Linked DNA regions of Homo sapiens: regions 2, 3 and 4 are each linked to region 1. Evidence: promoter capture Hi-C in 16 types of primary human blood cells and fetal thymus (Javierre and others, 2016). All regions are on one chromosome and are shown on one strand. Each heading gives the region's core, a stretch centred on a gene start or on the middle of the fragment in contact. The rest is flanking DNA. Distances are from core to core; before and after follow the strand shown.

Region 1 (4,310 bases), core at 882-3,381:
GCGGAGGTTGCAGTAAGCCGAGATCGCGCCACTGCACTCCAGCCTGACAAAGAATGACACTCCGTCTCAGAAAAAAAAAAAAAAGGGAGGGAATTGTATTTTCTGTGCCTTGTACAGAGGTTACACAAGAAACCTCGTGTTAGAAATCAAAGCACGCAGCATAGTTATTTAATTTATACCTGTGTAGTGAAGAGAGCCCCGGACTGGATTCGCTCTTGCTGGTGTTTGGGAACTGACAGCTGTCCCTCCATCTTAGTTATGCTCAGTCTCTAGACCCTTAGGTGTCAGATAGAAAGCTGGACTAGAATATCCTCTCAAGCCATTCCTTCGTAGAAATCTGGTGTTTCACTATTAAAACTAAATGCATGCGATTCTGCCTCCACCTCAACTGCCACAACACTCAAGGAGAGACAAACGTTAGTAGATAAAATTTACTCAATTTAAAATGTCTGTTATGGGTTTTTTTCTTACATTGACAGCATCTGCTAACGTTTACCGCCTCTTAAGCGTTGGCAAATGATAAAACATCATTGTTGCTGATGTGTATTACCTCATTTAACCTTCACAAAAACCAGAAGATATAAATATCATTACTTCTGTATTACAGACTAAAGTTTAAGGAGATTTCATAACCTGGACAAGATCACCAAGTAAATGGTAGGGTCTGGCTTTGAACCTAAACCCTCTGGTTCCAAAGTCTCATCTCTTAACCACTACTATACACTCTCTTCAAAAAACAATACACTAAAATGTTAACAATAGAATTACTCTAAGTTTTACTTTTTTGGTGTGTGGATTTGTGTTTTTGACCGATTGTAAGGCTTATGTGTAATATAAGCATCTTTTTTTTGTTGTTGTTAAAACTAGAATTATTCCATCTTTATGAAGGCAACACTGATCTCCACGAGCACAATCATCCAAACGGAGATGGGAACCCCTGTTCTAACTCTCTCAGAGGCCTGAAGTTAGTTTTCTAGCACTCTCTCTCACACAAGGGAAATGCGCTTACGGCCAGTTCAAAATCTGCAGTAACCTGTGTCTGTTTATTAGGGACCTCTTGGGCGCAGGTAAGACAATATTCTTTCCCTGCAGCTTGAAAGAAGTGAAATCAACGGATAACCACTACCGGAACAGAGTTCAGACTGCAACTCATGAGATCTCTCAGTCCTTTCCTTCAGTGAATTCTTCCGAGCCCTTTTCAGGTGCAGCTTTGAAGGTTAAAACGAGACACTAGGACCAGTGGGTCCCTAAGAGGCGGCAGCACAGACACAGGTGTGCTTCCCTGCTCCGTGGTTTTACGGACGAAATTCTGAAGCATCCTTAGAGACCAAGGGTCTACCCATGGGGTTCACCAGGCCTTCTTTCCCGAGGATCGGCCCTTGACTCAAAGAACTGGGGCGGGGGAGAAGTCGCTTTCTAGAAGCCGCCCGACCACACCGCCACCATATTCTCCTCTTTCCCTCCGCGGCTCCCCGCACGTTCCCGGGGAGAAGAGCTTCCAGTCTCTTCCGTGGACACCCAAAGACGCCGAGCCTCGGCTCCCAACCGGGAGCGGCCTCCGTGGCCGGGCCGCAGGCACTCACCGTCGTTCTCGTCGCTGTGCCGCCGCCGCGACATGCTGCCCTCCGGTGCGCCGCGGAACCGAGAGGCCAGGCGGTAAGCGCTGCAGGAACTGTCTGGCCGCTGGCCGACGCAAGGACAGCTGCAAGGCGCGCGGATGGGCCGGCACGCAGGCGCACTAGCTCGCCACGGCCCCGGAAGCGCAGGAGAGGCCGCCGGGTGGGGCTAGGCGCTGCGACAGCCGGCGTGAGGAAGCTCAGTGGGCTACGAACGTCTGGCACACATGCAACCGCCCCCTCGGGCTGCCTCCGCCTGCCGGCTACTTCTTTCTCCCGCCTTCCGCTCTATGTCCTTCCGGGGCCACGCAGAAAGTGCCGCCGCTTTGGCCACTCAGAGCCCCCGGGCCGCGGTCGTCGTACGCCTGAAGGCGGGTCGTGCCGGCGGCCGCTCTAGTCTCCGCCTCCGCTCAGGCCGGTCCTCCGGGGCTTCTCAATGGTTTCCCGGTGGCCTCTCAATGGTTTTCCCGGCGGCCCTTGCGCCGACGCCAGGAGACTTCCGGAGCTTGGTGACGTCACGAGCGAGCTTTTCTACCCAAATACGCGGCGGGGGAATAGGCTCGAGGGCGGTGAGCAGTGACAATTGCTAGGCGGAGACAGTGCAGGGAAGAGAGACCTTAGAAAGGATCAGGACTGGCGGGTATGTGCTCATCTACTCCCACTTTCCGGCTTTTGCCGCCTTGGGAAAAGTGGGAGGAGAGGTTGGGCCAAGCTCGGCATGCGGGGTGGGGCCTGGGCGGGAGGCGGTGCCGCACGTGCCGCCCCTTGGTATGGAAAGGCCGGCCCTGACGCGAGCGTGCGGCTCCGGGCTTGCCGGCTGGCCGTCATTTTCCTTAAGTTGTTTGCTTAGGAAGGAACAAATGATTGTTTTAGTAATCTGTTTTCAAGGGTTATTGGGTACCTATATGCCTGTGTGTGAGCGTCCCCTCCCCTGATGTCTTTATGAGCACCATACTGGCTTATCTGCTTTGTCCATGGCCATCTGAAATTTCACTCTCCCGGCCTAATTCTCCTTCGGTCTTACCCATTTCAGTAAATGACGTCATCCGTCGGCCGCTTAATCCAAAAATTTAGAGTCTTTCTTAGCTCTTTTCCCTCTTTTTACATAACAATTATCTGTAAACCCTGCCTGCTCTGCTTTCAACACAAATCCAGAATCAGATCGTGTTACTGCTTTGTTTAAAAGTCTCCTATGACGGCCGGGCGGGGTAGCTAACGCTTGTAATCCTAACACTTATGGGAGGCCGACGCGGGCGGATCCGCTTGAGCCTAGGAGTTCAAGACCCACCTGGGCAACAAGGCGAACACCGTCTTTACAGGAAAAAAAAAAAAATTAGCTGAGCCTAGTGTTTGGCGCCTGTAGTCCCAGTTACTCGAGGGGAGGGTTGGGGGCCGAGGTGGGAGGATCCCTTGAGCCCAGGAGGTCGAGAATGCAGTGAGCGGTGATCGCACACTGCACTCCAGCCTGGGCAACAAAGTGAGACCGTGTCAAAAAAAAAAAGTCTCCTACGACTTTCCATTGCACACTCCATGCCATGGCCTGTGGGGTTCTACTTCTCCTCACTGTACTCCAACCACTCTTTCTGTTCTTACAATAAGTCAAGCTTGTTCTTATTTTAGGAACTTATACTATTTCCTTTACCTGAAGGTCTCTGGTTCTAAATCTGCGTGGCTGGCTCTTGGTCACTTAGGTCTCAGCTCAAATGTCAGGTCCTTAGTGAGGCCTTCTTTGGTTACCCAATCACTGTTTTATTTCATTCAACGAATATTATATTTATTAGCATTTAGCACCTCCTAGGTGCCAGGCAGAGTTCTGAATGCTGAGGATGTAGAGGTGAACAAAGGAAAACCCCTGCTCTCTTGGCGCTGATATATTCTAACGACCCATTCAGGAATACCCACAAATAGTGCCATCATAGGTAGTGAGCAACGGGAGAGTGGTAGATGAGATCAGAGAGGTAGGGGGAAGGTGCTCTGTGAGGACTTTGGACATTATCCAAGTGAATTGAGAAGTCATTGGAGTATGATTTTTTTTTTTTGAGACAGGGTCTCGCTCTGTTGCCCAGGCTGGAGTGCAGTGGCACGGTCTTGGCTCGTTGTAACCTCTGCCTTTTAGGTTCAGGCAATTCTTGTGCCTTAGCCACCCAAGTAGCGGCAATTACAGACATGCGCCACCACACCAGGCTAATTTGTATATTTTTAGTAGAGATGGGGTTTCGCCATGTTGGCCAGGCTGGTCTTGAACTCCTGGCCTCCCAAAGTGCTGAGATTACAGGCATGAGCCTCTGTGCAGGGCCAGTCTGACTTATTTTTTTAATAGTTACTTCTCATGCTCCCAAAGGAGGAAGATAGTTCAGCTTTTGCAGTAATTCTAGCTGCAAATGATAGTAGCTTGAACTAGGGTGGTAGTAAAGATGGTGGTGCAAAGTGATCTGATTGGATTGTACTTCAAAAGCAAAGCTGGCCAGGCATGGTGGCTCACCCCTGTAATCCTAGCACTTTGGGAGTCCGAGGTGGGTGGATCACAAGGTCTGGAGATTGAGACCATCCTGGCCAACATGGTGAAACCCTGTCTCTACTAAAAAAAAAAATACAAAAATTAGCTGCGTGTGGTGGCGTGCAGCTGTACTCCCAGCTACTCGGGAGGCTGAGGCAGGAGAATCGCTTGAACCTGGGAGGCGGAGGTTGCAGTGA
Region 2 (4,310 bases), core at 1,216-3,715, 1.2 Mb after region 1:
TATCTGAGACAGAACAAAGACATCAGGAATATGATCCATACACTTCAGACAGCTTCTTCATTGCATGAAAATGGAGCCAAACAAGCAAAGATCTGGTATGACCTCAGCTTTGCTCCTGGAATCACCTTCTGCCCAGTTCACACATTCCTGGCATGTCTTTCATTCTCTTGGGGAAGAGAGCAAGTGGAGTTGCCAGGTTACTGTTGATGAAGGGCAATTTTTAGAAGCAGAAAGTCAGCATCCTGTGCTGGATGATTCATCTTGCCCTCTGGGGCATGCTCTGAATGTTAAACAGTAACTATTTGTTGGTGATTAATCTGTTGGATTTTGCTCAACCCCTAATTCGAGTGTCCATGATGGATAGATCACTTTTTTCTTTACACTACTTGTCAAGTATAAAACAGATGGATAACATTTCCCTTCCAACTGATTCAGAAAAATATGTTTTTTGGTATTAAACTGTAAAAACAAAATGTATGTTTACTAAATTAGGTGAAAGTAGGGCTGAACTTTCAACTTTCTAGATCAACCATTACAATATGAAATTTGCCCCTAAACCCTGAAAGTTTTGGAATATGAGAAACGGGACCGAGAAATGTGTGAGTCCCATTTTTCAGCCTTTTCCTCCTTTTGCTCAGCAGACACTGAATATAATCCACAGGCAGTACAGACTTATTCTTCCAAAGGATTTATTATGTAATCTTGTACAAGCCTCAACTTTTCTCATTTATAAAATGGGAAAAATATCTTCCTTACCCAATTGTTGAGTGAACTGTGAAACATCCATATGTATTATTGTGTATCAGTACATATATGCTATTTTTGTAGTAGGCCTCCAGAAAATGGAGGCTATATACTGTTTCATTTCTTAAAAGGATACTTTCACTTGGTTCAAAGTTCAAAAGATAGTTATATATTGTATTTCTTGAAATCTTTTCACTTCTGTTCCCAGCCACACAATTTCCCTCCATGATCCATGTTTCTTTTGCATCTTGCCAGATATTTTATGTACGTCTAAAAGTAAAAACGTATTTTCCCCACTTTAACAATTTTACATAAAATCACACTATTGCTTGTTTTGCCTTTTAAAATAAAAATACATTTTTGAAATTGTTCATATCAGTACAGTTTCCTTTATTTGTTTTTAAACAATTGTGGCTTAATTTAGTCATAGCTGTGCATTTGTGTGTCTTTCACAGAGAGAAAAGCTATTCAGCTTAGTTATCTGTTATTATACAGTCGTGTTCTAACTTAATTACCAATCCTAACCCTTAACCAATGGATATTCATTCATCCATTCAGCAAATATTTATTGAGCCCCTACCGCGAATCAGGCGGTGCCTGGGAATCTGTATTCCCAAGAACAAAACGCAGCTCCCCAGGCCACATCTAGCGGGTAGGAAGCCGGGCAACCCCTCCGCCCGGTCCTTCCTCTGCAGCCTGCGAGCCCCACCCGGGCCGCGGTCGGCGCCAGCCAGGCGGGGCTGGGGCGGGGCGGGCAGAGGACGTTGGGGCTCCGCGCGTCCCGGCGCGAGTACTAGGACGCGGCCGGGGCAGGTGGGGGCCGAGCAAAGTAGGGCGCTGCCCCGACTCCCGGAGCAGCCGCTCGGTAGAGCGGGGTCGCCGGGGTGGGGAGATCCCCGAGGCAACTTCGGGGCATCAGTCCAGGGTGAGAGTGTCTACTCTCGCCCGGCTCTTGTGGCCTCCGCGCCGCGAGCGGCCCGCAGGGACTTCGGAGGCCACTTCCTGGACTCTCCCCTTTCCACAGATGGGGAACCGGAGGCCCACAATCGGCCCGGAGGAGTCAGGGCGGTGCTGACAGGGCTGGTTCACAGAGCGTGCAACAGCTGAGCAGACGGAACTCGATTAAGAAACCAGGCACGCCGGGTGCCCATCAGGACCTCGGGCAGCAGAGACTCCAGCCGCCGGGCGGGTGGTGGGACCGAGGGCGGGGCGGGCGGCGGGGCCCCAGCCCTTTAAACTCCCTGCGCGCGGGAACCGCGGCCCAACAACCAACGGCGGGCGGGGCCGAGCGGGGCGCGCGCCTCCACCGCCCAACGATCACCACCCCCCCCGACCCCGCCCCGCCGCTGTCCAATCAGCCGCCCTCTTGCCGCCCTCCCCGCCGCCCTTGTCTCCCTGGCCCGGACTAACCACGCGGAGGGACGGCGGGGCGGGGCGGCAGGCGGGTGTGTCCGGGCGAGTGGAGACGCCGCGCGCTCCACTGGAGTTTCGAACGCTGTTGGCCCTCCAGACAGAAAAAAATATAAGAGCGGCGGCCAATGGCGAGGTGGGAAGGACCCGCGCGCAGACCCGGCCCCGCCCCGGCCGGCTGGAAAGAAGGCCAGGCCTGGCCATTGGCTCGCGCCGCCTGTCACTCGCCGGTGCGGCCAGCGGGCAGCGGCCTCGCGGTGACTGGTTCCGCCCAGGCGCGAAATGTAACGCGGGAAAAGCCGGGGCAGGCACCGCGGCGGCAGGTTGTTATTTTTGGGGGCTCAGCGCCGCGCGTCCTGCTTTCCTGTCACCGCAAGGGCCGGGCCGCCCGCTGCTTCCCACCCCTGCAGCCTGCGCTGCGGAGTACAAAGAGCGGAGGGCGCGCTTGACCTGGGGCTGGGGTCCAGCCCTGCCCGCCGGTGCCGTCTGCTCAACTAGTTAGGTGGCTGCTGCGCAGGATTCCGGGAAACGTCAGTCTGCCATGAGCCGGCAGGACTGAGCCTGCGACTCGGAGCAGAGCGAGTGAGGGGCAGAGCGGTGCTCAGGAGTGCGGCCCGGGGCCGCCGGAGCTGGGGGTCGGGCCGGGCGATGATCCGGGGCTTCGAGGCGCCCATGGCGGAGAACCCGCCGCCGCCGCCGCCGCCCGTCATCTTCTGCCACGACTCCCCGAAGCGGGTGCTGGTGTCGGTCATCAGGACGACCCCGATCAAGCCAACGTGCGGCGGTGGAGGGGAGCCGGAGCCGCCGCCGCCGCTCATCCCCACCAGCCCCGGCTTCAGCGACTTCATGGTGTACCCGTGGCGCTGGGGCGAGAACGCACACAACGTGACGCTCAGCCCTGGGGCCGCGGGGGCCGCCGCCTCGGCCGCCCTGCCTGCAGCCGCAGCCGCCGAGCACTCGGGGCTTCGTGGCCGGGGCGCGCCCCCGCCCGCCGCCTCGGCCTCCGCCGCCGCCTCGGGAGGTGAGGACGAGGAGGAAGCGAGCAGCCCAGACAGCGGCCACCTCAAGGTGAGCGGCGCGGGCGGGCGGGCGGGCGGGACGTGGGGCAGCCGGGGCCCGTTAACGGTGCGGCGGGCGGGGCGGAGTTGAAAACGCGAGGTCGATCCGGCTACGGCGGGGGCTGCGGCTGACAGGATGCTGACGTCACTGCCGCGCGCCAAAAACCGGCCCCAGTCGGGGGGGGCCTGTCACGTGACAGGCGGGAGCGGCGCGGGAGACCGTCCTTGCGGCAGGTGCAGTGGGCGGGAGCGCGGCCCGGGGTCGCTGGGGAGGCCGGGTCAACGGCCACTGACATCCTCCCGGCGGGCTGCCGAGTCCTCAGTTCCGAGAGGAAACGAGAGGGATGAGGGCCTTGAGTTGTTCCACCGACTGCGAGAGGGCAGGGAGCGCACAGTGTTTGCTCCATTACTGCAGATCGCCCTCGCCCTGTTAAAAGATGCCCTGCAGAGACAGCCGAAGAGCAAGAAAGGACTTCTGGGCCTGTTCTGCGGCTGAAGTTGTGCCTTCGCTGCCTTTCATTTATCCAGCATACTACTTGCTAGGTGTTGAGAGCACATAGTGGAATGGGACGCTAAAATTGCTTGCAGTCTCCGACTGCTTAAAGCTGGGAAGGTCGTTACCACTGGTTCAAACCTATTTTACAGATCAGGCAGCTGGGGCTTACAGTGATTAGTGAGGCGACCTTCCCACGATGGCACAGCTCAGTAGTGGAAGAGCGGGGACTAGGTCGAGGTTTTGTGGCTTTTAGTCCTGCATGTGTTTGGGGTGACTTTCTGCTGACTTATACTGAACTCTGTAGACTGTAAGCTCCAGGTGAGCCAGGAGTATTTCTATCTAGAAGACTATATGACTTTACTACCTTACATTCTGTAAATGCTCAATAAAGGTGCTCAAAAAATATTTGTGTAATGAATGAATGGTGCTAACAGAAGGGTAATATCCAGGTTCCATTTGTTAAGTGGCTGTATAAGATAAGCAATTTGCAAGAGATAACAAGTAAATCACATAGTGGATAACTGCATCTGTATCAGCACATAATGTATAAGTTGAAACGAGTTTGATCATTTTACATGCAGTCACAAGGATGTTGAAACTAC
Region 3 (4,310 bases), core at 1,003-3,502, 1.2 Mb after region 1:
TTTATGTATATAAATGCAAAGTGTTAGTAGGAAAAATAAGAGGATTTTCACTTAACCTCATACATTTTGGAATTGCTTAAAATTCTTAACACAAAAATGCATGACAATTTTAAAAAGGCTAAAAATCAATGTATTAACAGCACTAACTCGTCTCACGTTTTTCTGAAGCACAGAATTTTTTTTTTTTTTTTTTTGTGACGGAGTCTCGCTCTTTCTCCCAGACTGGAGTACAGTGGCTCGATCTCGGCTCACTGCAAGCTCCGCCTCCTGGGTTCACGCCATTCTCCTGCCTCAGCCTCCCGAGTAGCTGGACCTACAGGTGCCCGCCACCACGCCCGACTAATTTTTTGTATTTGTAATAGAGACGGGATTTCACCGTGTTAGCCAGGATGGTCTCGATCTCCTAACCTCGTGATCCGCCCGCCTCGGACTCCCAAACTGCTGGGATTACAGGCGTGAGCCACCACACCCGGCATTTTCATTTGTTAAAAAATAAAGGGTGAAGAAAAGCTTAGCCTTCCTCAATTCCTTTATTATATTGATGTAAATAAGTTTAAGAGAAAAAGATAAAAAACAGGATATAAAATGCACAATGTATCTCCAGTCTCACTGTTTAGATAGGCTCAGAAATTTACTGGCCTACCAAAGTGTCGTGAGATAGTAAATAACATTTTTTTAAAAATCATTTTCAACATCTTTATTGTAGTGACTTGATTCTCAAGTGATGACTCTGGATTTAGCTTTTCACAAATAAAGGTAAACATTACCCAGCTGCACATCAAAGCCCTAATACTTAAACCTGAGACGTTTCCTCAGGGCTGCGATGCACAATTTTTATCAAGCAAGGAACAAACCAATAAAGCCAAGTTGAACACACTGGCAAACGTCGGCAGGAATGGTCAACCTACACATCTTAATCCTAACACTCTGCAAACCTTGGGACCGCTGCCTCATTTCAAGAAAACAGGAAACACAGGTGGAGTGTTGCTGGCTCTGCCACTGACGCAGTTCGGTGAGAGAATGAACTCTGAAGCACCCTCCCCGTCCACAGGCAGCAGGACACCACGCTGCGCACCGGTTTTTCTTGCTAAATAGGGAGTGGGGAACTCCGAATATTCTTGCTGGAAAGGTTAAAAACGCTTTTCTTAAAGCAGCCTTGAGCTATTTATAAGTTGCACATCCCATCAACACCACACGAAGTACTGAAATACGATGCCGGCTGCCTCCTGGAAGCTACCGGACGGAGAAGGGGCGAAGGCGCCAGGCCGGACCGCGCCGGGGACCCCCGCCCGGGCCCCGACGTCACAGGCCGCCCCGCGGTCGCCCAGGCCTCCGGCATCACAGAGGCCCCCAGCCCCGGGACCAGGCGCCCTCCTCCTCCCCACCGCGCTCTCGGGTGGCTCCGACCTCAATCTTGCAGAGGCTGGGCTGGAAGATGAAGGTCCCCGCCAGGTCTGGATGTGGGAGCCCCGGGGTAGCGACCTCAGCCGTTCGCCCCCACACGCCACCCAGACAACCTCCCTCAACTTCGTCCAACTTGCCGTAGAGCCTCAGTGCCAGGGTTCGAGGGCCCTATCCCACCCCAAGCCAGCGTTTCCCCCGGAGCCCCGCACGAGGCTGGCGAGAGCTGGAAGGGGTGTGACCCCTGCCCCTCTCCTCCTACCTTCGGCGGCCACCAGGACCCTCAACTCTCCCTACTGTTCCCGGGCCCCTCCTCCTGAAACCGGCCCCCGGGACCCCAGTCTCACAGCGGGCCGAGCCGTGGTCCGCTAACCCCGCTGTCCCCGCGTACCCGGCGCCTGCAGGCCGCCCCCGGGGCTATCGGGCCGCTGAGCGACGGGCGCCGGGAGGCTCTTGCGCTCCTTCTGCGACTCCCTCCGGCCGCCCGCGCCGGCTCTGTGGCCCGAGGCCCCGGCTGGGCTCCTGCCGCCGCGGGGACCGGCCCCGGCCGCCGCCGCCGCCTCGTCGCGCCTCTTGCGCTGCAGCTGCTGCTGGCGCCGGCGCTCGGCCTCGCGCAGGATGTCGAACGGGTCCGACTCGTCGTCCAGCAGCTGATGGAAGCGGTTGGCCACCACGCAGCCGAAACTCTCCTGCATCGCGGCGCCAGCGGCAGCCACGGGACTCCCCAGAGCGCCCTTCATGCCGCCGCGACCACTGCGGGCCCGGGAGGGCAGCCCACGCGAGCGCGTCTCAGCGAAGCCGGCGGCCAGGACCCATGCCGCCCGCTCCGCCGCCACCGCCCTCCGGGCCCTACCCTGTCCGGCCCCTACCGGCGCCCGCCCCCGCGGCGCCGCCGCCGTCCGCCCCGCTGCGCCAGACAGCCAGTCAGCGCGCGCGGGTGCGCCCCCTTTCCGACACGGCGCGCCTGGAGACCCAATCACCGACCGGCTGCTGTCACGTCACGCGACCTCTGGGCCCCGCCCCGTTCGCTCAGCAGGGAGGGGCGGGGCCCAGGGGCGGAGCTACTGGCTGGTCCAGGCGGCGCCGACGAAGCGGTGGGGTCTCGGCTGTGTGTGCTTTCTCCCGGGACTGCGACCGTATTTGCTATGGGCCACTCTGCTTTGAAGCTTATGTATACATTTAGCCGTGCAACAGCTACATATTGCGCACTTACCGTGTGCCAGGCATTATGTTGTAGGAAATACTAGCTCCGTGTTGTCACAGATCTGAGTCTGTAGATGGAGAAAAAGTGCCCTGAAGGACAGGCGCAGAGCTCTCTACGGGCTGCAGCAAAGGGATCTGACCTAATTGGGAAATGACAGTTAAGCCGAGGGAGAGGGGTGACAAGGGGTTGGAGGAGGAACAGCAAGTGCAGCAGTCTTGAGGTGGGATGTGCACAGCCTATTCAAGCTCAAAGTGGTCTCTATTCTAAGAGCAGTGGGAAGCAAGTTTTGAGCATGAGCAGATTTGGGTTTGAAAAGGCCACCCTACCTGCACTGTGAACTAATAGTTTGGAGGGAAATACAAATGGATGCTGGGAAGCCAAACATGATTGTTGCAAAGCTCCAGGGAAGAGTTGATAGTGACTGGGATTAGGATGGTGGCGGTGGAGGCGAAGAGAGTAGATGGATTCAAAGACTTGGTGATGCGCTAGAGGTGGTGATGAGGGAGAAGAAGATACGGTGACTCTTATTTTCCTGGCTCCAGCATCTGAATGATAGTATTAGTTACCACTGGAAGACACTACTTTAACGGGAATCATTAATTCAGTCTGGGACACGTTGAGGTTTGGATATTTGTTTTCTTTTGAGATATTCAGTTGAGGCCTGGAGCTTAGAGAACGCCGGACTGGACTTCCTCCAGGAAATCTTTGCATAGGCAGCGGTGGAGACACGCTTGGCTGCCTATCCTACAGCCGTTCTTTCCCTCTTACATTTTTCCAGAGCCTGTATTTTGTTCAGGCATCATATTCCCCAGGGGAAGAGGGCCCCTTCCAGCCTCAAACTTGATTAATCATACATTATTCATTGCACCTGATTCCAATTCCTTGCCAGTAATTGGCTTAGGAATAGGCTGTGGGGCAAATCGGGCAGAACAGATCTGAGAAGTATTCTGGGAAAGTTTTTCTTGCACCTAACAAGGGATTGAGAAGGGATCTCCCCCCCTTCTGTTCCCTGGTCTTTGTTCCATGAGAAGACATGATGCCTCGGGTGGCTGTTCCTTAGCGTGGCCATGAGGATGGCAGAGCAGGATAGAGAAAGGCTAGATCCTTGATGAGGTTGAGCTGCCGACTGGACCCACTTGGGAACCTCCCTACTTGAGGCTTATGATGTAAGGTGACAGATGTGATTGCGCTTAGTTGTGTTTGCTTGTTTCATCCGAAAGCATCCAGTTAGAGCATCTTGCCAGGTGCTCTGTGACCAGCTTTTACTTTCCTTAATAGCAAAGGAATTCCTAATCCTAAATGCTGTAAAGTCTGTGTGTTACTCACTTATTGAATTTTGTGTTATTCCCAAGGAGGACAGGGATGATGCCTGTCTTATTCACTGCAGTATGTATTCCCAGTGCTTGGCGTTCTAAGCAGCTATAGAGTAGGTTTTCAGTAAATATTTGTTGAATGATTGAAGAATTTAAGATATTTGGTCATCTCCTTTTGAGTGAGCAAAGATTAATGCCTACGCTTTCTACCCAAAAGAATTAAAAGCAAGTGTTCAAACCAAAACTTGTACATGAGTATTCATAGCAGCACTATTCACAATAGCCAAAAGACAGAAACAAATAATATACATGTCACCCGATGAATGGATAAATAAAATGTGGTACAAAAAATATTATTTGGTCAAAAAGGAAGTATTGATACTTGTTACAAC
Region 4 (4,310 bases), core at 702-3,201, 1.2 Mb before region 1:
TCTTTCCACTCACTTTTATGTAGAATGCATGGAGACTCACTTTTATGAGTTTCCTATTTCGCAAACGAAGGGAAACCAAGGCTCTGAGAGGCTAAGCAGCTTGCCAGAGATCACAGAAGTGACGAGCAAAAGAACCAGGATTTTATCTCCCCTGGGCTGGATTTAATCTGAAGCTGGGTATAACCTGAAAGCTTCCCCTCCACCTTGCCTCAGCGGGCACCCTCGGGGTTTCGAGGAGCTAAACATGCGTTAGGCTGGTGAGTGGAGGAACTACTATCAATCCCAACAAAGTTTTATTCAAAAAGACTAACAGTGAAAAATGCCTCAGGCAGAAGCATGAGGCTAGGCATGAGGAGATCCCCAAAACAGGGAAGACAGTGGAAACAGTGGGGCAGAGGTGGGGCATCCTCATTCCATCATTCATGGTCTCTCTGGCCAAGGTACCATGGAGCAGGCCCCTAAAATCCTGAGATCAGCATGGTGCCAAGTGGGCCAGAAGGGCCATAGTCCCTCCAGACCAGTCCTACCACATTCCAGCTGAGGGGCCTTGGGTGGGTCACCTATCCTTTCCGAACCTATTTCCACACCTGTAAAGCAGGAATGGCTTGAAGGGGAGAGGAGTGGCAGGTGCCTGGTGCACACGGCAGGCTGCCACCACCAGCTCCAATGGGAACCCCCTCTCTGAGTCCTCTTTTCCTCAAAGTCTGTAAGGAAGGGGCTCAAAAAAGGACTTGGAAGATCCCTGACACTTCGAAGAAAAAGTGAGAGCCCGGGAGGCCCAGCGGCAAAGGTGGCAGCAGCCACCTGTCCTTCCTCCTGCTGCCAGCGTGTGCCCTGGATCCCCACCTAGGCAGGGGCGCAACCTGCCCAGCCAGTAGCTCCAACAGGAACTAGGCCTCTGACCACGCTGGCTCCAGTCCAGCACCACCCACAGGAGTGAGCTGGGGTGGATCACGGCCAGAAGGAGCCCTTCCCACCCCGTGCCCCTTCCCGCCTTCCTCCACCCAAAGCTCAGAAATCCAATGCCCAGGGAGAGCACAAGGAGGCTTTCTAGCGCTGAGGGGGCCTTACAGCCATCTTTCGCTTCACCTGTGGGGCGCTCCCTCGCATCTTGTTTGTCCCTTAGGCCCTGGCACACACAGAGAATGAATGGAGCCGGTCACCGCCCGGAGGAGTTGTCAGTTTCGCGGAGGCACTGCGAGGCGGGCAGAGCGGGGTTGTCCTTTGGGTGCTGGGGGGTCCTCGCCTTAAACCCTTCTGCTTAGCCCTGACCCTCACCTTTTCAGGGAGATGATAACTTCTCAAGGAGAAGGGAGCTAAGAGATCACTAACAGACTTGCCAATTTCTGGTAATTTTTTTTCTACTTTCGTCTTTTTTACTTTCTTGCCTCCCCGCCCCCATGTGAGCTCTTACACTATCGTCTTCGGAGAAAGACTCAATAAGACGCGCCATCCTGGAGACCCCAGCTCCCCGCCCTGCCACTGCTCTGATGGAGAAACTGAGGCCCGGGGCTCTGAGGGCGGGCTTCCTCCCCAGAGCTGTGCACTCACAGCGGGTTCCAGCGCTCGGGCAGGCGGCGGTGCAGTGAGATGCGGTCGCTGAGGTAGATGTTAATCTGGTGCAGCCGCACGCTCTCCTCCTGCAGCCGCAGCTCCTCGCCCTGCAGCTGCAGCCGCACCGCCTCGCCCCGCGCGCCCAGCGCGTTCGCCGGCACCGGCGGCCGCGGCATGACCGGCTCGCGCCGCCCGGGGCGCGGGGTGCGCGGGGGTCCCGGCTCGGCAGCCCCGGCCCCGGCCCCACGCTGCGCCCGCAGCACCGAGCCCAGCCCGGCCAACGCCAGTAGCGCCAGGAGCACCAACAGCGCCTCCCGGCCGCGCCGCAGTTCCCGCGGGCAGCGCCGCCGCGCCGTGCGCCCCCACATGCGCCCGCCAACTGCAGCCAGCGATCTGCGCGCCCCAAGGCGGCGGTGGAGGCCAGGACCCGGATCCCGGAACCGCCGTGCCGCCCCGCCCCCGGCCCGCCCCACCTGCGCGCCGCCCCCTTTCCGTCCAGCCCCGCGCCAGCCCAAGCGCAGCCCCCGGGGTGGCTCATTTCGGCAGGGTCTTCAAGTGGGCTGGCTGAGACTTGCATCTTCCTTCTTGGGCTATGGTGCATTATTAAAGAGATAGTGGTGGTAAAACCCTTAGCGCCTGGCATATTGTAGGCGCTAAGTGTTGGCTGAATACACCCTGCAGGGTGTTATGAATTCTACTGCCATTATCTCATCTGATCTTTACACAGTCCAATAAAACAACCATCAACTAGGATTACGAGCTCCCTTTTACAGATGAGGAGATGGAGGTGCGATGAGATCAACAGACACCACGCTGCCCCACTGACTTCTGCAGGCCCAGCCTCTGCCATACTCTTTGGAGTCCTTGAATAGCAAACCCTCGCCTGGCTCGCCTCGTGATAGCTCTGTGACCTCTGAGGCTAGGAGCAAAAGGCCATGAAGGCTGTACATGATAGTTCACACCTGTAATCCCAGGCCGAGATAGGAGGATCACTTGAAGCCAGGAGCTTAAAACGAGACTGGTCAACATAGCAAGACTCCCATCTCTACAGAAAAATTTCAGAATTAGCCATGCATGGTGGCACGTGCCTATAGTGCCAGCTACTCAGGATGCTGAAGCAGGAGGATTGTGTGAGCCCAGGAATTGGAGGTTACCGTGAACTATGCGCCACTGCGCTGCAGCCTGGATGACAAAGCGAGATCCTGTTTCTATTAAACAACAACCAAAAAAGGCCATGAAGCTGCCGCCCTGTTCATGAGATCACTGCTGTGGGAGCCTTGAGCTGCCAGGGACGAAGTAAGTCTAATGGAGTAGACAAATATTAAAAAGATAATTAGAATTGTGTTAAGTATTTTGAAGAAGAATTACAGGGCGCTAAAAGGGCTTAGAATAGTAGAACTTGATCTAGTTTGGGGGTTTTGGAAAGCTTCTCTGATGAAGTAATGTCTACACAGATATCTGAATGTAAAAGTGATAGCAGAGATTTCAAATCATATCTTAAATTAATCTGGAACTCCCTCTGCTGGTGTCTAGCTCAGGGAAAAGAATCATTCTGTATCCCCTGTAGAAGGATAGAGTGTAAGCTCTATTTGTTGTTGTTTGTTTTACCATGGGAAGTTGGTCCAAAGCTTTTTATCAAATATTCTCAAGGAGACCAGAAGCCCAGAAAGTTTAAAAAGCACAAATCTGGTCCAATTATCTCATTGATAAATGCGGGGTCTGAGACACAGGGTGGGGAGAGGACCTTGAACTTGGCGGCTCAGGTAGAGGTAGAATCTGACTTGCTGTTGTCTTCATACAGCCTTTGGCTACTGGTATCCCCAGAGGAAATCTCCCTCAGGTTGCAGGAGGGGGGTGGGTTTTGGGATGAACCATGCAAAGCAGCTCCCACTCAGGACAACCTGCTGCTAATATTAGACTAGAGGGAAGTGGCTCTTCCCACAGTGCTCAGGGCCCCGCCTGCTTCCCACGCAGAATGGAGGCTGCTGGTTAATGCCAGAAGGCGGTTGTGTTAGGTAGGTCTGGACCTGAGCCCTTTGGCCTCTGTTCAGACACCCAACACATTTAAGATCTGCGGTCAGATTAGAAAACAGACAAGGATTACAATTCATAATGTCTTGGATCCGCTTGCCAAATTGGAATGCTTCTCAATAGAGGTTCAGATACAGAGAAAAGAGAAATGCAATTAGGCCTTACAAGACATGGACTTAAGCCCCAGGTAACAGATAAAAGCTATTGTTTACTGAGCACACACTGTGTGCTGTAAACTGCTGGACTTTCTTTTTCATGTACTTTCTCATTTCACCCTATGACAACCTTGCAAGGTTGACAGATGAGAATATGTAGGCTCAAGAAGTGAAGCAACTTGCCCAAGGTTACACAACATGCAAGCGGTAGAGGGAGGATTTGTATCTGGGTCTCCTGACTCACAGTCCAGGATTTCCCACCACACCACTCACTGTTGGGCAGGCTGCAATGAGATGCAAAGGCAGCTTAGCTTAGGAGGTCGGAACACAACCTTGGAGCCCACTTGCCTGAGCTCAACCCAGCCCCATCACGAATTGCAGTGTGACCTCAGGCAAGTTGCTTTACTTATCTCGGCTCAATTTGCTCATCTATTAAATGGTGATCTAATGATAGCACCACCTGAACAGGGTTGTTGAGAAGATTGAGTGATACAGTCTGCACAGTCAGCCTCCCGGGGCACAAAACAGAGTGGAGAGAGTGTCAGTAAGGCAAAGGGAAGATGTCCAGCA

What was found. Contacts are between HindIII fragments. The CHiCAGO score rates a contact against its expected background, and 5 or more counts as called.
Region 2: a contact is called between the fragment with the promoter of ZNF367 here and the fragment with the promoter of TSTD2 in region 1, in 1 of 17 cell types (erythroblasts). The highest score is 7.4, in erythroblasts.
Region 3: a contact is called between the fragment with the promoter of HABP4 here and the fragment with the promoter of TSTD2 in region 1, in 2 of 17 cell types (naive B cells and fetal thymus). The highest score is 7.5, in naive B cells.
Region 4: a contact is called between the fragment with the promoter of GALNT12 here and the fragment with the promoter of TSTD2 in region 1, in 1 of 17 cell types (fetal thymus). The highest score is 5.9, in fetal thymus.

Annotation. Positions count from the first base shown.
Region 1 is chr9:97,631,189-97,635,498 of GRCh38, reverse strand. It overlaps TSTD2 (thiosulfate sulfurtransferase like domain containing 2), which reads left to right and starts at 2,131. Exons shown (of 10, transcript NM_139246.5): 1 at 2,131-2,256. It overlaps NCBP1 (nuclear cap binding protein subunit 1), which reads right to left and starts at 1,678. Exons shown (of 23, transcript NM_002486.5): 1 at 1,584-1,678. The coding sequence starts at 1,617. RefSeq lists enhancers at 1,181-1,260, 818-1,653, 1,818-2,112, 1,881-2,210. The HindIII fragment of the contact is 4,009 bases long and covers 1-3,222 here.
Region 2 is chr9:96,416,525-96,420,834 of GRCh38, reverse strand. It overlaps ZNF367 (zinc finger protein 367), which reads left to right and starts at 2,465. Exons shown (of 5, transcript NM_153695.4): 1 at 2,465-3,222. The coding sequence starts at 2,803. RefSeq lists enhancers at 1-600, 1,117-1,650, 1,651-2,184, 3,659-3,898 and silencers at 1,319-1,588, 1,849-2,508, 2,619-2,758, 3,059-3,298. The HindIII fragment of the contact is 11,520 bases long and covers 1-4,310 here.
Region 3 is chr9:96,448,111-96,452,420 of GRCh38, reverse strand. HABP4 (hyaluronan binding protein 4) reads right to left here and starts at 2,252. Exons shown (of 8, transcript NM_014282.4): 1 at 1,793-2,252. The coding sequence starts at 2,141. RefSeq lists silencers at 1,735-1,784, 1,865-1,924, 1,935-2,474 and an enhancer at 2,755-2,834. The HindIII fragment of the contact is 2,057 bases long and covers 513-2,569 here.
Region 4 is chr9:98,805,311-98,809,620 of GRCh38, reverse strand. It overlaps GALNT12 (polypeptide N-acetylgalactosaminyltransferase 12), which reads right to left and starts at 1,951. Exons shown (of 10, transcript NM_024642.5): 1 at 1,552-1,951. The coding sequence starts at 1,922. LOC124902229 (a long non-coding RNA gene) reads left to right here and starts at 2,041. Exons shown (of 2, transcript XR_007061689.1): 1 at 2,041-2,850. RefSeq lists silencers at 1,810-1,879, 1,980-2,069. The HindIII fragment of the contact is 2,789 bases long and covers 194-2,982 here.